Linked DNA regions of Homo sapiens: region 2 is linked to region 1. Evidence: promoter capture Hi-C in human tissues and cell types (Jung and others, 2019). All regions are on one chromosome and are shown on one strand. Each heading gives the region's core, a stretch centred on a gene start or on the middle of the fragment in contact. The rest is flanking DNA. Distances are from core to core; before and after follow the strand shown.

What was found. Contacts are between HindIII fragments. The study calls those that stand out against the background at their distance.
Region 2: a fragment that was not itself captured here is called in contact with the fragment with the promoter of CDH4 in region 1 in 1 of the 25 tissues and cell types used here (dorsolateral prefrontal cortex).

The regions. Positions count from the first base shown.
Region 1 is chr20:61,250,302-61,254,171 of GRCh38, reverse strand. CDH4 (cadherin 4) reads right to left here and starts at 1,911. Exons shown (of 16, transcript NM_001794.5): 1 at 1,602-1,911. The coding sequence starts at 1,658. The HindIII fragment of the contact is 10,940 bases long and covers 1-3,870 here.
Region 2 is chr20:60,166,712-60,170,757 of GRCh38, reverse strand. The region is part of intron 2 of MIR646HG (MIR646 host gene); the gene reads right to left. Among named protein-coding and RNA genes, the nearest start is that of MIR646HG, 30 kb to the right of the region's middle. The HindIII fragment of the contact is 4,329 bases long and covers 160-4,046 here.

The sequences.
Region 1 (3,870 bases), core at 662-3,161:
CAGGCAGGGAGACGGCTCCCCTAACTGACCGGAAAGGGGGTCTCCTCCTGTCCTCCGGAGCTCGCTCGCCTTTCCTGCTCAGTGGGGAAGTCTAGAGCCCATGGCACAGGGCCAGGGAAGGATGGGGTGGACGACAGGGCCCTCCGACCAAGCTTCTGGGAGGGGGCGTGACAGGCAGGAGGAGGTGGTGGAGGGAGAGGCAGTGTGTGCAAGCGGGAAGCCAGCCCCGCTGAAGGAGCAGGAGCACAGCGGTGCTTGGCTCCCCGGCGAGCGCAGGAAGCCTCGGGTGCAGCCCGCACCGGGCAGTGGCGCCTCCCGCCCGCCGCCTCCTCCAGCTCCGCGCGCTGCCGTCGCCCGCCCATGCTTCGACTCCGGAGGCCGCCCCCAGCCCGGAGCTCCAGGCTTCCCGACGCCGGCACCGCGGAGGGCGCCCCTCTACCCCCAGCACCGAGGGAGGAGAGCGGGACGCAGGGTCATTCCTTACGAAAAGCTCTAAACCGCGGCTTTCTTCATCGGCCACGAAGCTCCAAATCGCACCCGCAGCCCGGTGGGAGGCTCAACTCGCCCAGGAAAGTTTCCGCCCGCCCGAAGCGTGTGCCCAGCGCGTCCCCCAGCGCCCCGCGGCCTCGGAGCGGGCCTCCCGCCGCTGGCACTTGTTTATTTCCGAGGTTACAACAGCGCTGCCCGGGAGAAGGCAGCGAGGCCGATCGGCCACGAGAGGGGGTTCCTGCAACTCCCGCCGCCCCTCCGCCTCCGCCCAGGGGCGCCCCCGGAGCCGCCGCGCTCTCTGCCCCCGCGGGCCGCGCACCTCGCCAGGCGCAGAGCAAAGCTGGCAATCCGGCCCGCGGGGCTCTGCAGAGGCAGCGGGAGACCCGCTCGCCCTCCCGGGGCGCCCTCCCGCGCCGCGCCCGCCCGGCGTCCGGCTTCCCGGCCCAAGCCCGGCCCAGCTCCCAGCCCCCGGGGCCCCGCCGGACACGCAGGCTCCAGCCCCGCCGAGGGCTCGGGGGTGAGAGTGCCCCGCAGTCCTACCCCGCCGCCCACCCGCAGCGCGGGTCCTGCCGGCACCCACAGAACTGAGCGGCGCCGCTAGACGGACCCCCAGGCCTTGGGCAGGAGAGGTCGGGCAGGCGCCCCGCACTCGCGGATCCCTGGCCCGCAGCCGCCGGGCGCCCCACGCCTTCAGCCACGGCCGGGGCTGGGCTCGGCAACTCCCGCGGCGCGCGGCTCCCGGGCGATGGAGGGCGCGCCGGCTCCGCCAGTGGAAGCCTGCCCCATGCAGGCAAGCCGAGCTCCGGGTAGCGGCTACGGGCTTTGGGCGTTCGAGGGAGGCTCGGCGGGTCCGGTGCAGGCGGAGCTCCCCGGGTCCTCCACCGAGCCCCACTCCCACCCTGCTCCGCCGCTCCCCGCTGCCCAGGCGGCTTCCCGCTCCTGCCGACCGCAGGCAGCTTCGCCGAGCGCGGGCGCCGGGCTGGATGCAGCGGGGAGCGCGGCGGGGGAGCCCGGGAGAGCCCCGCCGGGTGTGTGAGCGCCCCGCGGGATCCGGGGACGACCTCCCGCTGCCCGGGGCTTCCGAACGGCGGGGGCGGGAGGCGGCAACTTACCCGGAGCGCGCCGGAGAGCGAGAGCAGCAGAAGGAGCACGCCGGCGCCCGCGGTCATCTTCCCCGCCGCCCGCCCGGTGCCCGGCACCGGGAGCCCGCTCCCTGCCGCCGCCGCCGCCGCCGCCGCCGAGACCACCGCCGCCGCTCCGATCGCCGCCGCCGCCGCCGCTCCCCCGCGCCTGCCCGGAGCCTCCAGCCCCGCTGCGCCCGCCGCGCTCGCCGCCCCGGCTCCGGGAGCCAGGCCAAGTCCGGCCGGCGGCGCGTTCCCTCGGGCCGGTGCGTCCGCCGGCCTCGCAGCCGCCCGCGCCTCTGTTCCGCGCGCTCGGAGCTGCAGGTGAAGCCGCGGCCGCCCCGCCGAGGCCCCGCCCCGCCGCCCGGCCCCTGCGCTCGCTCTGCCGACGCGGGCCTTAAAGGCGCAGAGCCCGCGCCCGCGCCCCCCGCGCCGCACCAGCCCAGCCTCTGCCCTCCTGGACGTCTGGAGCCGCCCGGTTGCGGCCGAAGAGGCCAAGGACGCTCGTTTTCCAGGGGAAAAAGGCGCGGGTGTGGAGACTGAAGACAGCGCTGGGGTTTCCGCCCCCACACCCGGGGCACCCTTTCTGGATGGGGCGGTCCCGCCGCGGTCTTAGTCCGACTTCCCGCCCGGGCCCGCGGTGGGAGTGTGCACTTCCATTCTGTCCTTTTATTTTTCAGGTGTCTCCTTGCTAACTCCCCTGACCCGGGCTTGAACCCAGGTCGGGCAGCTCAGGGGTGAGAGTTTCCACCTGGAGCAGATGAGCAGAGGGCCACGCTGAGATTTCAGCCTGTGGGGCTTTGCAGACCCTCCCGCTCCTAGGAAAACTCAAAGCCCTGGCCTGGGCTAGGGATGTACCCTAGGATTGGGGACGGTAGTAATTCCTGTGTGTGCATCAAAACACCCTGTTAGGCCTCAGAAGCCAAGAAAGAAATTAGAAGCTCCAAGAAAGAAAGAAGTGCCCAGACAGGAGCTGTCAGGAGTGTCTGCGCCGACAGGCTGGGCCAGCTCCAGCTCCCTTTGCCCTGCATGGGTGATGGCTGAACTGGGGGGCACTTCTTTAAGGGTTATCAGGTAAAATATATGTACAGGTCGGACAGTGAGTAAATGTTTCTGCACTTTTCCTTTTGGCTTGGAGATTTAAAGAAACGCGGTTTTGTTTGTTCAGATACATCGAATTTTCTTTGTCTGGGGTTTCAGGGACTCTGTGTCCAGAATACATTAGTTCTGGTTTAAGAAATAGGTTGCAAAGGAGAGGGTGGAAGATTGAGTGACACTGTTGAGCTCCAAGATCAGAGTCCACTTGGGCAAGCCAGTAGAGAAAGCTACAGAGCAGCCGCTTCCCTCTCTCCCTCCCAGAACCCCCACCCTTGGGGGCAGGGTGGTCTCCCGGTTAGAGCTCTGCCTTACGCTTAAGGAAACCAGATTTTAGATAACCCCAGAGGACCAGAGTAAGCACTACATCCGAGAGCACAAGGCGAGATTCGGTTTTGCAACTTAACTATGGAACTAGTCAGGAGACACAAAATCTGCCCCAGCCTGGACTCCTATCAGTTATGGCCTTGTCCCACTCCCCACCTAGCCGAAGAAGGAGAGGTTACCAGTTGACATGGCTGGAGGTTTAGACTCACTCGAAGGTCCTGCGTAGCCAGTGAGGTTTCATGAACAGATCCATCCAAAATCCTCATGGACAGAGAATTCCATTCCTCGGCCATGTGCCCGTCCTTTGGGAAGACGCCCCCTCTGCTTTCCTCCTTATTCAAGGTGCTTCACCACTGCTCGAGCGACATCAGAAGCTGTCCAAGACTGCTTTAGACACCAAGACAGCTCTCTTGTCTTGTGTCCCTGGTCTATTTTCTTAAAATATCTGTCGCTGGGGATACACCTTTGTCTGCAGGAGGCCTGAGCATTATGCGAGTTATTTCTTTGGAGAGGCATCACAGACCCCCGCATTTGCTCCAACGTGCTCTGCGAAACTGTTGAAGCGCTGAGGAGCGCGCCAATTTGAAAAAGAAAAGGTATGAGTGTGTGGCAGGGAGACTGGGGTCCAGGAGCAGGTGGGTCCTGAACTCCAAACACTGTGTTAAGCACATCTCCCTCTACTACTGAATGAATCTTGAGTCTACTGCAGCGTGATTTCCAGAAAGGGTAGAGTTTGACAATAGCCTGTCCTTACAAGGTGCTAGCTATGTGCCAGGGACATGTGTAGGAGCTTTATGTAAAGTTGCTCTTGGAGTCCTTCTAACTCCACTATACAGTC
Region 2 (4,046 bases), core at 1,075-3,574, 1.1 Mb after region 1:
AAACCTGGGCTGGGCTCAAGTAGGTAGCTCTTCTACTGGTCTCACTAGACTCACTCATCTGTGGTCAGCTGGTGGTCATTGAACTAACGTGCCTGCCTACAGGCTGGCTGGCTGCAGGCTGAGGCCATGAAGGTACCTAGGTGTCCCATCTTTTATCACCCAGCAGGCCTGCCCAGGCTTGTTCTTGGGATGGTGGTTGTAAAGTTCTTGTATGAGTTTGCTAGAACTGCCATAACAGAATACCACCGACTATGGGGGGCCTTAAACAATATGACTTCACTTTCTCACAGTTCTGAAGGCTGGAAATTTAAGATCAAGATGCCAGCAGGACTGGTTTCCAGTGAGGCCTCTCTTCCTGGCTTGTGGACGGGTGCCTTCTTGCTCTGTCCTCATGTGACCTTTCCTCTGTGAGCCTGTGGAGAGGAAGTAGTCTCTGGTATCTCTCCCTCCTCTTATAAGAACACAGTCCTATCAGAGTAGGGCCCTACCCTTCTGGCCACATTTAACTTTAATTACTTCCTTAAAGGCTTTACATTCAAATACAGTCACATTGGGAGTTAGGGCTTCAACCTATGAATTTTAGTGGGATGCAATCAGTCCGTAACAGTTCCCAAGAGCAAATAGAAGACAAGCCCTTTGTGTAATATTTGATTTTTTTCTCATTGACCTAAACAAGTCCTCTGGCCAGGTCCTGAGTCAGCGTGAGAGTGGACCACACTGACGCAAATACCAGGACACAGAGAGGCATGAACAAATGAGGGGCTGTGACAGCAGCCATCCACCATGTCCAGGCCAACTTTCTTCACCTGCTGCATACTCTAGGTCAGCGCATTTTAGATGCATGCTGTGGGGGTTACTGTGGTTCACTATCCAACAACTGATTCTCATCAGCAGGTTATTCTAAGAGGATTATAGGCTCCCTTTCCCCTTCAATGACTGATGGGGGAGTGGGCATGGACCCAGTGCAGATAAAATGGAAATGTCTGCTGCATGTCCTTATGGAAAAGGTTTCCAGGCTCCAATAAAGAACAGGAGAAGAGAAGGTCCTGCTCCTGGATGTTGTTGAGTCAGATAATGCCTGGATCAGCTGTGGCCACCTTGCCATCTCTGGAGGATGACGCCAATCCCTCAAAGGCAATGGGAGACCAGAAAAATGCAGATAGTCTCCAGAGCCTGACATCCATGCCTAGACCGCATTCTGACTCCGAATTTCTTGTTACATAGCACCATGGATATCCTTGCTGCTTGGATTGGTCTGAGTCACTGTATTCAGTCGCTTATAGCCTAATGCAGACCAACAATGCAGACACTGATTAGACTGGCCCATCCATGTGGAGCCAGGGAGGTCACACACATTTCATGGGGAGCCCTGGATTCTATGTTTATGTTGGCCTGGGGCGGCTGCTGTCTCAGCTTCCTCCACTGAAAAAGTAGAAAATGTCTATTCTATAACCCCAAGTGTGGATTTATGATCAGATGAGATAATGCATAGGAAAGCATTTCAAGCTGTATAAATTGTCAAACCAGTGTAAAGAAATGAGAAAACAGCATCTTTCAGGATGAAAGGATTGACAGCTAATAGCTAGAATTATGTCATATCAACAATCCATCCATCCAGTCAAGTCAGTCAGAGCACTGTCAAACCTGTTTACTGTTGCAGAGACCAAAATAACCACATATTCTACAACAGACCTCCACCTATAATTAACCTTTCAATTAAATGAAGACAGCCTCAGCATTGTGTGAGTGCTAAGAGTGGTTAAAGGGTGGAGGCACTGGGCAGAAGCAGGTCCACATCAGCTAGGATGATTTCAGCTGCAAGGAACCAGCACCTAACTCATCCTGACTTAGAAAATAATTTACTGGCTCAACTACGAAGAGTATAGCAGTAGGACATTTACCTGAGGATTTCAGGTGAGGAGTCATTCAGTGGTTCAGTGACATAGCCTAAAATCCAGCTTCCTTCTTCCTCTGCCCTCTGTCTTTCATGGTATTGGCCTTATATTCCCAAATGTCCAGGGAGTAATTGCTAGACATATCCTCAAGTAAGATCACGCATTTAGTCACTGCACTTGACTGTGTAAAAAGCATAAATTTCTTCAATGAAAAGAATATAAATATATCCAATTTTTATAACCTGTTTCAAGATTCCTTCATTTTTCAATGTATTGGAAGCTTCAGGAATTGACAATAGCCTGGGCTCCCTCGATCATGAAGAAGTCCTGTTTGTCCTGATATAACTGATGATTGGTCCTGAAACTATTTGCCTGAAAACTTTCTTCCTGGAATGCAGCTTGTCTTCATCCTGCAAACACACACTTCGATACCTGCATTTGTTGAGATGGGCTGAAATGACCCAACAACAGATCCCCACTTTCACTACAGACATAAAGAAATGTTTGTACTTGAGATGGTAGCAACAGGCCCCAACTCTACATGTCTCCCACTGAGATTTGAGAAAGTAAAGAAAAGAAGACAAACCTTGCTTACATTAATTTACTGTCACCCACTGTGGCTGAAATGCTCATTAGAATCTGGCATTTATACATAATTTTAAATTGGCCCAGGTCTTCTAATCCTTCTAATGAGTTATTTCCCTCCACTGGCCATAGATGTTAAGGCAACCATCAGTCTTTACACCCATGTAAATATTTTTGTACTTATTTTGTGGTGAAAGTTGACAGGGAGCTTGGTGTCACAATGAAACTGTGTGTAGAAACCAGAGAAGACTAAGTGCTAACAAGCATAAGCCACATCCCCAGGGTTTTGAACAACCATGGTCTGGTCTTTCTCAACTCAATTGAATATGTATTCCTTTACATAAGCAAGCCAAATACCAAATGGAAATTATATTAGACATGCAGAAACATCAGCAAACCTCAATCTCTAGTCAAGCAGAAAGAAATAGCAATCAATTAAACTCACCCGGAAATCAATGCCTGAATCTATTTTGTCTGACATCATATATCCTGGCAGTACACAATTTAAGACAAAACAAACTCACCCATTTCAGAGATTAACATCTACGCCCCTTAGCTGTAAGGACTTTTGGAACAAAAATCCTAAAATTGAATTTTACTCTATTCATTCCATCAGTAGGTCTAGGAATGAAGCTCCATTTATTGAAAAACATAAAATTCCTGACATTTCACTATAAGTCCTCTTCTCCATTTTCTTTGAATTAATCTGATGTAGAACCTGTTATAAGCAGATCATCCCTGTTAGACACCAGAGGTCATGTCATTAATATATCTGCATGCCCAAGGCACAGTAAATCATACAGTATACAGTCATTGCTCAATATATGTGGGCTAAAGTTTGATGAGACTTCAGAATACCCACCTTAATAAACACTTGACTATTTGAACTTCCTATCTCATAGTGTCATTTAGATGCTGCCTTTCCTCAGGTGGCTGGCCATGTGTTTGTGACTGTATAATATTCATTCTTTGACCAAACAGAAAGTTCTAGAAACAGCATTCTTGAAAGCTATTCTATCACATAACCTTTGTTAATGTAAAGCTAGAATAAATAAGTGTCTGTTGTATTTCCCATTAGGGTAGTTGACTAGAGGGGATTCATTTTATCACTTCTAAAATCTCAAAGGATTACAGGTTGCTTTTTCATAGGAATTTTAAAAAGTCAACGATCCATCAGTAAATGTATATCTGACCATTCTTGCTTTTGCATCCTTAGAGAGAAAGACAGATGGACAGCTCAACATTCACATTCTCCTCAAACTGCTCCTTCTTTTACCCTCAAATACAGAACAGCAAAGCTTCTGCCAGCATTTCAAGTCAGCCTTGCTATTGTTCCTTTAGCAAGCCTGGAAACAGTCAGGCTAGACAGAGCAGTGACTAATATTCCAGAAGTTATTTAAAATTCCACAAAAGATGTCTGTTGTGATTTCTGCCTGCCCAATGTTCATTCTCCCTTTTCTAGGTTGTGGAGACAAAGTTTCCACCAAAGAACTACCCTCTGCCATTTGGCGTATGGGAGGTTGAACCCATATTGTGGTTTCAGAGGTGGGCCTGGGACCCAAGCTT